Regions from separate parts of the Homo sapiens genome. Here all the other regions are linked to region 4. The links are contacts of gene promoters, found by promoter capture Hi-C in blood cells and fetal thymus (Javierre and others, 2016). All regions are on one chromosome and are shown on one strand. Each heading gives the region's core, a stretch centred on a gene start or on the middle of the fragment in contact. The rest is flanking DNA. Distances are from core to core; before and after follow the strand shown. Region 1 has its middle 3.1 kb from the start of CCDC171. Region 2 overlaps PSIP1 (PC4 and SRSF1 interacting protein 1). Region 3 overlaps PSIP1 (PC4 and SRSF1 interacting protein 1). Region 4 holds the start of TTC39B (tetratricopeptide repeat domain 39B). Region 5 overlaps SNAPC3 (small nuclear RNA activating complex polypeptide 3).

Region 1 (2,700 bases), core at 33-2,532, 240 kb before region 4:
GATTGCGTCACTGCACTCCAGCCTGGGCGACAGAGCGCGACTCCGTCTCAAAAAAAAAAAAAAAAAAATTATTTGTGTTTTAACAAAGTCACAAAAGTGAATATTGTATCGCAAGAATAAATGCTATGTACTATATTGTATGTTTTTGAAATGAAAAATGGATGTGATGTGAAGACCCGTTTTCATTTATTTGTTCATTCAGCATTTACAGAATACAGACTATGTACCCAACATGGAGCTAGATGATAGAAATACAGGGGAATATTGATATCAACCCTGAGCTCCCAGAAATGATTCATAGAAAAGAACTTTGAGCTTAGTTTAAGAAGACCGTTAAAGATTTATGAAGCTAACAAGGAACTAGAAGGAAGACACGGAAGCTGCAAACACCAGCATAAGAACCAGCACCAGACATTTGAAAAGCTGGAAAAAGCTGTCTGTGCAAAGGAGGTGTGAGCGATGAGGCTAGAGAAATATGCAGAACCCAGATCACAGAGGAATTTCTACATCATACTTAGGAGTTTATCAAGCAATGAAGCTAATGAAGGGTTTTAAGCAGAAAAAATATAAAAATTACACAATAAATCAGACCATTTCAAAATGCGTGGAGATTCTCTGTTGTCTTTTATTTGCTTAACATGCTACTACTACTTGAAAAAAGCTATATAAAGAGATGTTCTCCTACCCGCTTATCTTTTGGCCTCAACATCACTTCATTTCTCTCTCTTCTTTCTACCAATCCTTTTGAGATATGATTAGATTCATTCATTCACACCACTCTACCAATAGCTTCCAAAGTCAGTAGTGACCTCATTGCCAAATCTGAGACCCCTTGACTTTGCTGACACATGTTGATCCTCAGATGCCTCTCCAGCAAAGGTGAGACTCTATACTCCATTGTTTCTCCAACTCTCTGAACTTTCTGCTGCTGCTCAGGAAACCATTCTTCCCTTCCTGCCCCTCAAAGTGATATTTTCTCAGTTTCTGCCCTCAACCTTCCCATCGTTTGTACCAGATAAGCGTCCTCAGTGATGTCATCCATTCCTGCAAGTATGAACTCCATATCCCCAATATTCAACTCTTTATATCCATCTCTGACCTCTCCTGAGCTCTAGTTTTGAATTTTTAACCCCGGTTTGAACAGTGCCACTCTAATTTCTGGAAATACTTAATTTAATATAACTAAATTTTAATTATCTTTCTAACTTCTTGTGGGAATCCTCTAAACTACTCTCCCACCTGTTTATAAAACTTCTAATCTCCTAGACACCCAGGCAAGAAAAACCCTAAAAATTTTGTTTGCGTCTTTCTCTCTCAAACTCTCACTTCCTGCATGCAGGATTCCTACTTTTTCTCTAAACCTCATGTCTTCTTTCTGTGCCTACTTAGTACTAAGCAACTTCATTTGTCTGTTTCCTTATTGCTTCCTATTGAGACACTCATAATTAGGACCTTCCTTGTGGCCCAATGCAAGTCACTCACCTTCCCCTTCTGTGCAAATTCTTGACATTTTTAGAAGTTGACCATTAACATCTAGGGCATTTTTAAACTGGCATATATAAGAAGAGAGGATCAAAAAAATAGAAAAAAATCAAAAGCAGGTCTAAGAACACCTGTATCTTTATGAAACTAGGGGAGTGTAATAAACTGATTGTACGTATGTGAGCCTCAGAGTTTTAAAGCACCAGATGAACCACATTCTTTTGACCCTTCTGTAACCTCCCCTAGAAGGTTTAAATACCAGGTTTTGATTATTATTTTTTTTAATTATACTTTAAGTTCTGGGGTACATGTGCAGAATGTGCAGGTTTGTTACATAGCTATACATGTGCCATGGTGGTTTGCTGCACCCATCAACCCGTCATCTACATTAGGTATTTTTCCTAATGCTATCCCTCCCCTAGTCTCCCACCCCCCACCCCCCACCCCACAGCTTCTTGATTATTATGCTGCCTTGGTATCAATTCGTAGAACTGAAAGGCCTTGCCATAATTGTTGCTCTCAGTGGCTCTGGTCCTATGCTCCTTCTATATGCTAAAACGGAAATATCCTTCTAAAGCATAACTCTGATTATGTTACTATACTGATTATTTCTTTTGGTGGCCCCTCAATTGCTGCCTGGATAAAACCCAGATTTTCTGCTGTCAGTCAAGGGCCCTAATCTCCCTACCCGCCTTTCCAGACTTGCTTTTTCTGACCTTGCAATAAATCTTCCTTCTCATTCTTACATTAGCAAAAGAAAACACAAAATGTTTGGGAATAAATGTAATAAGAGGTAGGCATGGGCTTGTGTTAAAAGTATTAAGATACATAGGTTAATATACAAGATTTAAATCCAGATAATATTATTTTGTGTTTGTTTTTTAAATTTATATGTTTTTTATTTTCAGAGACAGGGTTTCATTATGTTGCCTAGGCTGATCTCAAGTGATCCGCCCACCTTGGCCTCCCAAAGTGCTGGGATTATAGGTGTGAACCACCACTCTTAGCCAAATAACATTATTAAACATGTAATATGTGCCAAGCACTATACTAAGGGGTTTCACATTTGCTATGGTTTGAATGTGTCCCCCAAATTACAATGACTTCTAATTCTAAGCATTAAAGTGAAAGGAAGACACACCTAAAGCTAGAAATGATTAGCTTAGTGAGGAAGGCATGTCAAAATCCGAGACAGGCTGAGAGCTAGGCCTCTTGCGC
Region 2 (2,700 bases), core at 152-2,651, 160 kb before region 4:
AAGGAACAAACAGGTATGTGGTAAAAAGCCAACAATTTCACACCAGTTTTTAAACCATTTGCCAGGACTGCTTTTAAAAATGGCTTTCATACATAGTTTCACTGTGTATACGCCACAGAAAAAGTATACAAAGGCAAAATGGTGAAAATCTGATGGGCCTATTGAAGGACTAGAGCAGTGTGCATTGAGAACAAAAAATCATGTCAGTTTATATTCGACTTCTAAGGCAGAAACCATTGCTCATGAGGCAGATGACTCTGGATAAACAATTTTTAAAAACCCATCCATCACAATGCCTCCTAATCCCTAGAGTACCCACTTCCTGGTTGCTCAGCTGCTTCTGTTTTCTTCTCACCTAAAAAGTAAAATAGCGTACAGTAGCCTTTTAAATTAAAACACAGCCTCATAGGTGGAGACTACACCTGCCATTACTTGATACAGGTATTCTGATGATGCTGCTGAGTTACCCTGAACAGACTTCACAGTATTAATGCCATGTCCTTTTTTTTTTTTTTTTTTAAAAGATGGAGTTTCGCTCTTGTTGTCCAGGCTGGAGTGCAGTGGCGTGATCTCGGCTCACCACAACCCTCCACCTTCTGGGTTCAAGCGATTCTCCTGCCTCAACCTCCAGAGTAGCTGGGATTACAGGCATACGCCACCACACCTAGCTAATTTTGTATTTTTAGTAGGCACGGGGTTTCTCCATGTTGGTCAGGCTGGTCTTGAACTCCCGACCTATGGTAATCCACCTGCCGTGGCTTCCCAAAGTGCTGGGATTACAGGCATGAGCCACCGCGCCTGGTGATAAAGTCTTACAAAGCACTTAGATGTGTAGCATATATGTAAGGCACTGAACCTTAGCTTCTACTTTTTTCACTAACTTTAGCAGTAGTTAAATCCTGCTAGTACTTATTACTAACAGTAGTTATTTTCTTTTCATTTGTATTAGGAAAAATTTATAACTTATACAAATAGAAATAACTTCTCATGTCCTTGTCATCCAGCTTTGGCAGTTCAGTTTATGATCATTGTGCTTTTGTAGCCCATAAGCTTTCTCTATGCCCCTCTTGAAAGTTGTTTTACGAAAAATCCCTGACATACCATTTCACTCATAAACATTTCAGAATGTATGAAAGACTCTTAAAACAGAATCATAGTACCATTATCAGCTCCTCCAGTCTTGTTATTAAACATCTTAGTGGCAGCTGCTTAAGGTAAAAGCTGGCATTTCAAAAGCAGTCGGTTGGTTTTTTGTTTTTGTTGCTTTATTGGGGAATGACATGGGTCCCCTTAGAGAATTATTAATACGACTTACAGGAAAACCCCCTTTATTAGGCACAAAAATATCAATTAGGAAATACTCCTTTAGCACTTTGTTCTAAAATAGTAAATTTTAAAATTTGATTCACATTGCTTTTCCGTGGTAGAATAAATGAATATGCTAAGAATTACAACACCCTGTAGTATTCCTGGTAATAGTAACAACCAGAATAATCAGATTAATAATCCACTTCCTGTACTCATAGATAGTTAACCTGCTTTTTATGGTGCCTTAGCTACCCAAAGCCTCTGGTGGTCATCTGCTCCCCTTTTTGACAAAGCCATCAAAACCCAATTCTAACATTCAAGAGAGGGCTGTATTACAATGTAATTTCAAATAAAAGACATTAAGTAGTAGAAACACGATGGCCATGTTGTATTTTGATTCTGGATCTTTAGTGGACACCTTCAATTATTGTTTTGTAAGCTTTAACAAAGTTTTTCCATTGGATTCCTTCGCAAGGGTCAAAGACTCTAAATGGAGGATCTGATGCTCAAGATGGTAATCAGCCACAACATAACGGGGAGAGCAATGAAGACAGCAAAGACAACCATGAAGCCAGCACGAAGAAAAAGTGAGGAATAGGTTTTAATGGGTCTTGTGTGTTTTTTATTATTCAGGTTTTTAATCACAGTTCTGTTCCAAGGTTATCTTACTATAATAAGCAGTTATCTTTTGATCACCCAATTCCTGAATTCAGTAAGCAAGTTACAATTCAAAAAGGAAGAAGAGTAAAAACCTTTTATTGACAGTGACTTTGCCACTGAATTCAAGGGAATGGAACTAGCTGGGAACCCAGTTAAAAAGAAAATATTTGCTCCTGGACTACTTTTACTGAGATACTGTTAGTAATGACTTGCATTCACACTTTCTTGAATTGTGAAAGGATAATTGTAAAAAGTTAGATGGAGAATCACAGTTTTGTTGTTGTTGTTTTTTCTTTGAGACAGAGTTTCACTCTTGTTGCTCAGGCTGGAGTGCAATGGCACGATCGTGCTCACTGCAACCTCCACTTCCTGGGTTCAAGCGATTCTCCTGCCTCAGCCTCCCAAGTAGCTGGGATTACAGGCACCTGCCACCACGCCCATCTAATTTTTTGTATTTTTAGTAGAGATGAGGTTTCACCATGTTGGCCAGCCCGGCCTCGAACTCCTGACCTCAGGTGATCCACCCACCTTGGCTTCCCAGTGTTGGGATTACAGCTGTGAGCCAACATGCCCGGCCATCACAGGCTATTTTTTAATACCCACCCTAAAATAGGCTATGGAGCCATAGTTGAAGTCTTGCTTTGTTCCACTGTGTATCTGAAGGAGTTAGATAGAAGCATCCCTTCTAATTCTGAAATTGAGGGAAATCTTGTTGTCTATGTGTGTATCAAC
Region 3 (2,700 bases), core at 73-2,572, 190 kb before region 4:
TGACCTTGCCTGAGTCAGTCTTTTTGAATTTCAATTTTCTCATCTTTAAAATGAGGTTTTTGGTGATCCCTCAGTTTCCTTTCAGCTCTGGAATTTGGTGGGTAAGTTACCTTGAATGTGTATCTTTTCTTGTTAAAATTTTAAAAAACAATATAGAAGGAAACAAATCCTTTTTACTCCTATTTTTTAGAAATAACCCCTAAACCTGGTAATATTTTGACGTGTTTTTTTCAAACTTGTCTGTGCATTTTTTAAAGGAGCTTCTGTCGTATATAGTTATGCCCTGCTTTTGTGTGCATGTTAAGCATTTGGTATGTTATTTTAAAGTGGAATGCCTTGAAGAATGAATCAGTCAGACCTACTGTTAACATTTTGATGTATTTCAGACTGACTTACAATTTTTTGGTATTTGATATTATGTATAATTATATCCTGCATTTACTTAGCATATTAAGGATTTTTTTATATGTAATTTTAAAGTGGAATGCCTTGAAGAATGAATCAGAACCACAGCTGCACAAGGTTGTACCCTTGGGAAGTAGTATAGTGATGTCCGTCGAAAAACTAATCTGGTCCCTGTTCACCAAACCTGTCGGACTGCGTGCCCAAGGAAGATTTTTTTTTTTTTCCATCTGCTGTCATTTTTGAGTCTCATTAAGAGTTCATCAGTCTTGAGCATATCTTACTCTTTGTTTTTTTGTTTTGTTTTGTGTTTTGAAACGGAGCCTCACTCTGTCACCCAGGCTGGAATGCAGTGGCACGATCTTGTCTCACTGCAATCTCCGCCTCCCGAATTCAGGCGATTCTCCTGCTTCAGGCTTCCTAGTGGCTGGGATTATAGGTGCACGCCACCACGGCTGGCTAATTTTTGTATTTTTAGTAGAGATGGGGTTTTGCCGTCTTGGCCAGGCTGGTCTCGAACTCCTGACCTCAGGTGACACGCCCGCCTTGGCCTCCCAAAGTGCTGGGGCTGGGGTTACAAATGTGAGCCACCATTCCCGGCTTGACCCACTTATTCTTAGAATTTATTGTGAAGATAGGTGCAGAGATTGAGCAATATGTTTATTATAGCAGTGTGATTTTATAATATAAAATTTGACATGGAAAATGGCCCAACAATAGGTTTAGCTATTCAGTGAAATAGTGTGTAGGTGTTAAGTAATTGTTGACATAAAAAGATACTCATTTTAATTTAAAGAGGTCTACTTTTGAGTAAGTTTGTATCATATACATTGAAATTGCATAGTTATATATGTATATATACAAATAAGTGGGCTGAAAACAGTAGATTTAGTTGGTGAGATTGTGGATTAGTTTACTTTGATAGGATATGTTATTGTCAAAAAATTTTAACAGCTTTATTAAAATATAATTCATTTCTCCAAAAAGAAACCATGTATTCATTAGCATTTACTTTCCATTTCTACCCAATCTTCTTTCCCACCTTGGTCTAGGTGGTAGCTAACCTACTTTCTTCCTATTCTGGGCACTTCATATAAATGGAATCAGCCGGGCGCGGTGGCTCACGCCTGTAATCCCAGCACTTTGGGAGGCCGAGGTGGGCGGATCACGAGGTCAGGAGTTCGAGACCAGCCTGGACAACATGGTGAAACCCCATCTCTACTAAAAATATAAAAAGTAGCCAGGCGTGGTTGCACATGCCTGTAATTCCAGCTACTTGGGAGGCTAAGGCAGGAGAATTGTTTGAACTTGGGAAGCAGAGGATGTTGCAGTGAGCCAAGATAGCACCATTGCACTCCAGCCTGAGTGACAGAGCAAGACTCTGTCTCAAAAAAAAAAAAAAAAGGAATCATAGAACGTGTGGTCTTCAGTGGCTGGCTTTTCTCACTTAGGATGATGTTTTTCAAGATTCATCCATGCTCTAGCCTGGATGTGATAGTACATTACTACTCTACTTTTTATTGTCACATATTCCATTATATTGATTTACCATATTTATTCATCACTTGATAGACATTTGAGTTATTTTTACTTTTGGCTTTTATGAATAATGCTGTGAACATTTGTGTCCAAGTTTTTTTGTGAACATAAGTTTTCATTTCTCTAGGAGAAAATTCCTGGGTCAGATGTAATTTCACGTTTAACGTTTTGAGAAAACTCTCAGACTTGCCAAATCAGCTGCACCGTTTAACATTCCCACCAGCAATTGTAGGAGGGTTCCAATTTCTCCACATCCTTGCCAACACTTGTTATTATTTGTTATTTTTTGGCCGTCTGAGTGGGAGTGACGGTAGTATATTGTGATTTTTGATTTACATTTCCTGGATAACTTAATGATGTTGAATTATGTGAACTAAAAAAAAGTGTGCGAATTTAAAAATCTTCTGTACTTAACATGAATTTACATTTGTAAAAGTCTTTTCAGTTGGAAGAACATAGTTATTTAATTTTTGGTATATTAAGATACGTGAATTTATGTATGACATCAGTTGAACCATTATGGTTAATAATGAAAGGTACAACTTGTAAATCTGAATCTGGGAGTAGGAGCAAGGGGTGAATTTTTTTAAAAACCTACTTAGCAAAGTTAAGAATAAAAAACAATTGTAGTGAAAAGGTACACGTAAAATGAGGTGGTGTGAATAAAACTAAATGTAAACATTACATTTTATGAATGAATATAGTTCTGTTAAGACTTTCTGTTTTAATAAACCACTTTGCTATGTCTTATTTTGTGAG
Region 4 (2,700 bases), core at 201-2,700:
ACAACTGCTCTACTGACACAGAAAGAAAGAGAGGGAGGGTGGCTAGAGCCAGTACAGTACAAAGCAATGGTTATCAGCTAGGCCCTAGAGTTAGACTGCTGGGGTTCAGATGCTGGCATCCCTACTTACTTAACTGCTGTCTGGCCTCAGGCATATTACTTGAACTCTCTGAGCCTCAGTTTACTCATCTGAAAGAGAACAGCACCCTACTTTATGGGGTTATGAAGAATAAATGAAATACTATATGCAAGAGGTTCAGTAGAGTCCTGGCACATAGTAAGGACTCAAGAACTATTAGCTGTTTTTACAGTTATCACTGGATGACTATTAAATAGCCTTTCATGAGCCAGACATGGAAGACCACATGCTCTAATTAAATTTATATGAAATTCTAGAGAAGGCAAATCGATGTTGATAGCAGATCAGTGATTGACAGAGGCTAGGGAGCGGAGGTAGGAAATTGACAGCAAAGGGTCACAGAAAACTTTTCAGGATGTTCTATATTATGACTGGGATGCTTTGTAAACACTTGTCACTGAATCACACATTTAACTTGGTGCATTTTTCTGTATGTAAAGTAAATCTGACCTCTCTCCCCCAAACTCTTAAAGATCTAGCTTTTAATTTTCCAGTTATTTTACATGTCAGAAGCAAGGTTCAGTTTCTAAACTCAGCCAACAAATATCTGTTGAGCACCTACGATGTGCAAGACACTGTTCTGGGTGTTGGGGATACAGTCTTGAAGAGGACAGATAGCATCCTACCCCCATGGAGTTTATAGTTCAAGCACGAATTATACACCTATGTTTGGAGTTACAAAATACAGGATGCTATGGGGAGAATACACTGTCCGGGTAGGGGGAAGTAGAGGAGTTCCAATATGTATAAATCTCTGTCCCGCGTTTTTTTCTATTTTTTGAACACAGAAGCAAGCAGAGTCCTTCCACCTACAGTCCAGGTGGGTGGTGTGTCAGAGGCCTCTCGGGGACCAGTGACCGTGACCCAAGGCTGCCCTCAGGCCACACCATCTGCGAGATGCGGTGGCCACCTGGCGAGGGAAAAGGACTGGCACCGGACCAAAGACCAGGTGGATGCTTCCACGGACCCCAGGTGGGGCGCTGCTTTGACCTTGGCTTCGTCATGCCCGCGCTCTCTAGCTTCTTTCCAGGTGTGCCCAGCCACCGCAGAGAACAGGCGGCAGGAAAGCTTAGGAAACCCTCCCAGAGGGCGTGCCAGACCGGGAAACTTTATCTGGGAGGTGACTCCACCCACTTGGGCGGGGCTGCCGCCCGCTGGGGGCCGGGCAAGTGGCCCGGCCAGCGGCGCGGCGTCCGGGGAGGAAATGGATGCTGTGCTGGCCTGCCGGCTCCGGGGGCGGGGAAATCGAGTAGCTGCACTCAGGCCCCGCCCGAGACCCGGAGGGAGCGCCGGGCCGTCCCCTTTTGCCCTCCTTTGCGCTGGGCTGAGCCCAGAGCCGAGAGCAGGAGTCGGCTCTGAGTTCCCTGCTTGGTTTTTGGGTGGCAGCAGCCAGAGGAGGAATATGGCGCTCTTAGGCAGCCGAGCGGAGCTGGAAGCGGACGAGGTACGATCCGATGGGGATTGCGGGCCCGGCCCCTGAAGCCCTGGACAGGAGTCCGGGAGAGAAGAGTGAGCCCGGCTAGGACGGCCGAGGCCCCGCCCCCTTGGTCCCCTCTCTGGGGTGGGCTGGCGGGCGCCGGGTGGGGGCGCCCGGCCTTGGTAGGTCTGTCCCCGCTGGAGCTAGGAGGGTCCCTGCGGCGCGCGGAGCGGACGCAGTGCCGAGGTTCGGAGCGCCGGCCCCGCGAGTCGTGGGGATGGAGGACCCACGTCCTGCCAGCACTTGGATGGGCGTGAGGGCGCGGGACCATAGGACCCGCAGCTCTGAGCTGTTCCGGGCCGGCCCAGCGACGCCTGGGCTTTACGAAGTCTGACCCTGAAGTCCTGGCACTGGCTCTCTGGGTGTTCGTGGAATCATCCCTCGACCTGGGAATCTCACCTTCTATGGAAGTTTCCTGGTGGCAGAACCGAAAGGCTTACGATTGATGAAAAGAGGGGGCAGCCTGAGGAACAATGAGTAGAGGGGTACCTGCCGCGACAGCAGGGCAGGGCTGCCAGGGGCTGGGGCTGGAGGGCTAGAGCCGCAGCCCAGGCTGTGGTGCTTCCCTCTCCCTCCACGGGGCCGGGACACTTCCCCTAGCAGGTCCTCAGAGTCGGTGGTGGCCGGAGGGAAACCACTTTGAGAACCGACTCCGGCCTCCTTTGGTTTCAACTGTGTTTGAGTAATTAGCCACTCCTTCAGTCGTGGCGCGCCCGGGCCTGAGCACCCAGGGGCTAGCGCGCCGGACCTGTTGATTTATTGACTATTCATTTCAGCACCTGGCAACTCCAGAGACAGCGCTCTCCCTGCTCTTGAAGTTGAGACCGAGGCTCCAGCAGCAGCCAGCACCCACAGCTGCTGTTCCTGCCATCTTACCTGACTTGAATTGTGCGAGTCGCTGCCTTTAGAAGGCTTTGGTTTCAAATGATGCAATAGTGGACGATCTGGAGGAGGCGGTTAAGTTTCCCGTCCATCTCTTTAGTGCCAGGAATCTCCTGACAAGGAAGACTATACTTTAAATGTGCTCCGTAAAATAAACAAAAAACAAAAACTGAACTACAGCTCCTCTGCATGACAGAGAGACA
Region 5 (2,700 bases), core at 167-2,666, 140 kb before region 4:
AAAGATAAATCTCGTATTTCCTGCTCCGCGTAAAATTTTGAAATTCTACTTTTCTTATCCTATTGTTTCTCTCCAAAAGCACTGAGATGGCAACCCTGAAGAACCTAAATATCTAAAAACCATTTTCAGCATAACTCAACAGGTACTTAAGTGAAATCTACATGTGAGCCATATGCTAGTCTCCACACTAGTCACCAAAAACGAATATAGTCAGCCTGTGGAGCAGACGGACACACATTACACTGAATCAGCATACTGAAATACATACTACAATGGACAAAAGAAAAGGTGCCAGGGTAACAAAGAAAGGAGTCAAGAAAAATTGCATATAATTGGTGAGTTTTGAGCTGGGTTTGGAAATCTGAGGATGAACTCACAAAACGGATGAAGTAGGGAAAGGGCTTCCTACCATGTTCAAATACTCAGAGACATGAAAAAGTATGGTACACTGATGAAAATACACAAATTCACTATGGATGAATGAGGTGTAAAGGCAGCAAGTAAACAGTTCAGAAAGTTAATTTGGGAAGCATCATTATAAAAGGCCTTATATGTCAGCCTAGGGAGAAAAAAAAAAGTTAACATGAAACCTCAGTTATACCAACATTTATGTGGCTGGTGGAACAGGACCCAGGAAAAAAGGAGATTGTGTTGGTTCTTGTCCAAACACTATCTCCATCCTTGTTGTTCCAAATATCTTTTTACTTATCTCTAGGAGATGCTATCCCTCCCCTGAAATGGCCCTGTAAACCTGAGGCCCTCTGCCAGAGTTGTAGCAGGTTTAGTTCAATCCTGCCCTATGATGAAATGTGGAAGGGATCAAGGCCCTCCTGCTTTATTAGGTAAATGATCCTTTCTGAAAACATTGTGGGTAGCCAGTCTACCACACTGCTTCTTTCCATCCTTATCCAGGGGGTATGCAGGGCTTCTCTTTCCTTTTGAGAGCAACACATTGGGGAAACACCAGCAAGGACCAACTTCATATGCTCTCTCCTTGTTGGGTATTGGTCCTTGGGCAGCGAAAGGTGAAGAATGGGTGCTAACTATTTGAGGCTCTCAGGTCGACTCCAGCCTTTTGCTGGGCACAATCATGACAGATCACAACTCTGACAGAGCTTCAAACGAGTGAATGAACAGCAAAGTCATATGCTACAGTGAGGTCAAGTTACATAAAAATGGAAAAGTGACCAACTGCTTAGAAAATTAGGTGGTCACTATTGAGCTGAGATGGCGACACTGCACTCCAGCCTGGGCGGCAGAGCGAGACTCTGTCTCAAAAAAACAAAAAACAAAAAAAAACAAAAAAGAAAATTAGGTGGTCACTATTAGCCCAGAAGGAAAAGTCTCCATACAATAGTTTAGAAACAAATGAGAGATGAAGAAATCAAAACAGAGTCTAGCCTCTTCTTTGGAAAAGTTCCGGTGATAAAGGGAAGGAATGAGATAGTGTAGTTTGATGGAATCCCGCAGGAGAAGAAAAGGATTTACTGGGACATTTATGAACCAGCTAGAGTAATCGCTATTTTCTTAGCTTGTTATTTCCTTTTGTTTTATGGGAGGAAATCACCTTACTTTGCTGATGTGCTCAGGGGCTTGGTCAGGAGTGTTGCTGAATTCACCACCAATCTGGAGGTCACTGACACATCGAATTGAATCCCTCAGTTGTGTGAGTTTTTGACTGCCCAACACCAGCATTGTTTGGTATGGTTTGTGTTCTTTGTGCTAAAAGTCAAAGAATAAATAAGTGTTCATTTAGAGACAAAGCGATAAAACTACAAATCCTGTCATGACTAGATCAAAATTAAATTGCTGGTTTTCTTAATTTTAAATTGTCCCCATAACTTGATGCTCTGTATTTTCACATCCAATAATTATAGGGCCAAACTCATGGTCAAAATTGTTTACATCTCCCCTGTGATCCAGAGCCACTCTGAAACCACCTCCTTTATTACACACCAAGCCACTATTTCCCCTGGTATTCCCTCAACCTCAATCCACCCAGGGCCAAGCACCAGGCTACAAGGGACAGCCCCTCTGCCACCAAACCTACTGGAATTGTTCGAACTAGCCAATCCTAAACTGTTTACTCTTCCCTACCTTGTCTTTCCCACAGAAACCCCAATAAAAACTGTGGTCTATGCCTTCCCCTCTCCCCTTTCAGCCTCCTAAATGAGAATGATGCTTCTTCCTGTGGCCCTACATGGTGTGCCCCCTCCTCTAAGGAAATGTAATAAAAATCTCCTTTCAAAGGCATTATAGCCTCTCCATGTCATCACTCAGTCATCTCCATAAATTAGAATAGCATGGAATGTCCAAGCACAGTGGCTCATGCCTGTAATCCCAACACTTTGGGAGGCCGAAGCAGGAGGATTGCTTGAGCCTAGAAGTTCAAGATCAACCTGGGCAACATAGCAAAACCCCATCTCTACAAAAAATTTAAAGGTTAGCTGGGCGTTGTGATACATGCTTGTAGTCCTAGCTACTTGGGAGGCTGAGGCAGGAGGATTGCTCGAGCGAAGCTGCAGTGAGCCATGATTGTACTGCTGCACTCCAACCTAGGCAATGGAGCAAGGCCCTGTCTCAAAAACAAACAAACCAACAAAAATCCCATGGGTACAACTGACATACTCAGCCATGGAAATTTTCTGGTTTAAACTGAAGTTTATAATCAAGATGATACCAAACTGACATGAGCATTAA

Evidence for each region. The method cuts DNA at HindIII sites, captures the fragments that hold promoters and counts their contacts. A CHiCAGO score of 5 or more calls a contact.
Region 1: a contact is called between a fragment that was not itself captured here and the fragment with the promoter of TTC39B in region 4, in 6 of 17 cell types (non-activated CD4 T cells, total CD8 T cells, total CD4 T cells and 3 more). The highest score is 9.7, in non-activated CD4 T cells.
Region 2: a contact is called between a fragment that was not itself captured here and the fragment with the promoter of TTC39B in region 4, in 8 of 17 cell types (activated CD4 T cells, naive CD4 T cells, total CD8 T cells and 5 more). The highest score is 16.9, in activated CD4 T cells.
Region 3: a fragment that was not itself captured here is called in contact with the fragment with the promoter of TTC39B in region 4 in 9 of 17 cell types (activated CD4 T cells, total CD4 T cells, total CD8 T cells and 6 more); the score reaches 16.8 in activated CD4 T cells.
Region 5: a contact is called between a fragment that was not itself captured here and the fragment with the promoter of TTC39B in region 4, in 8 of 17 cell types (activated CD4 T cells, naive CD8 T cells, total CD4 T cells and 5 more). The highest score is 15.0, in activated CD4 T cells.

What each region holds. Positions count from the first base shown.
Region 1 is chr9:15,548,579-15,551,278 of GRCh38, reverse strand. No RefSeq gene overlaps it. Among named protein-coding and RNA genes, the nearest start is that of CCDC171, 3.1 kb to the left of the region's middle. The HindIII fragment of the contact is 3,429 bases long and covers 1-2,700 here.
Region 2 is chr9:15,465,943-15,468,642 of GRCh38, reverse strand. PSIP1 (PC4 and SRSF1 interacting protein 1) reads left to right here. Exons shown (of 16, transcript NM_033222.5): 14 at 1-13; 15 at 1,784-1,895. It also overlaps a transcript of SNAPC3 not described here. Among named protein-coding and RNA genes, the nearest start is that of PSIP1, 44 kb to the left of the region's middle. The HindIII fragment of the contact is 697 bases long and covers 1,053-1,749 here.
Region 3 is chr9:15,496,432-15,499,131 of GRCh38, reverse strand. The region is part of intron 3 of PSIP1 (PC4 and SRSF1 interacting protein 1); the gene reads left to right. Among named protein-coding and RNA genes, the nearest start is that of PSIP1, 13 kb to the left of the region's middle. The HindIII fragment of the contact is 2,963 bases long and covers 1-2,700 here.
Region 4 is chr9:15,305,966-15,308,665 of GRCh38, reverse strand. TTC39B (tetratricopeptide repeat domain 39B) reads left to right here and starts at 1,450. Exons shown (of 20, transcript NM_152574.3): 1 at 1,450-1,582. The coding sequence starts at 1,541. RefSeq lists silencers at 1,196-1,535, 1,566-1,885 and enhancers at 1,123-1,685, 2,249-2,700. The HindIII fragment of the contact is 2,405 bases long and covers 1,209-2,700 here.
Region 5 is chr9:15,446,117-15,448,816 of GRCh38, reverse strand. SNAPC3 (small nuclear RNA activating complex polypeptide 3) reads right to left here. Exons shown (of 9, transcript NM_001039697.2): 5 at 1,573-1,722. Among named protein-coding and RNA genes, the nearest start is that of SNAPC3, 25 kb to the right of the region's middle. The HindIII fragment of the contact is 5,903 bases long and covers 1-2,700 here.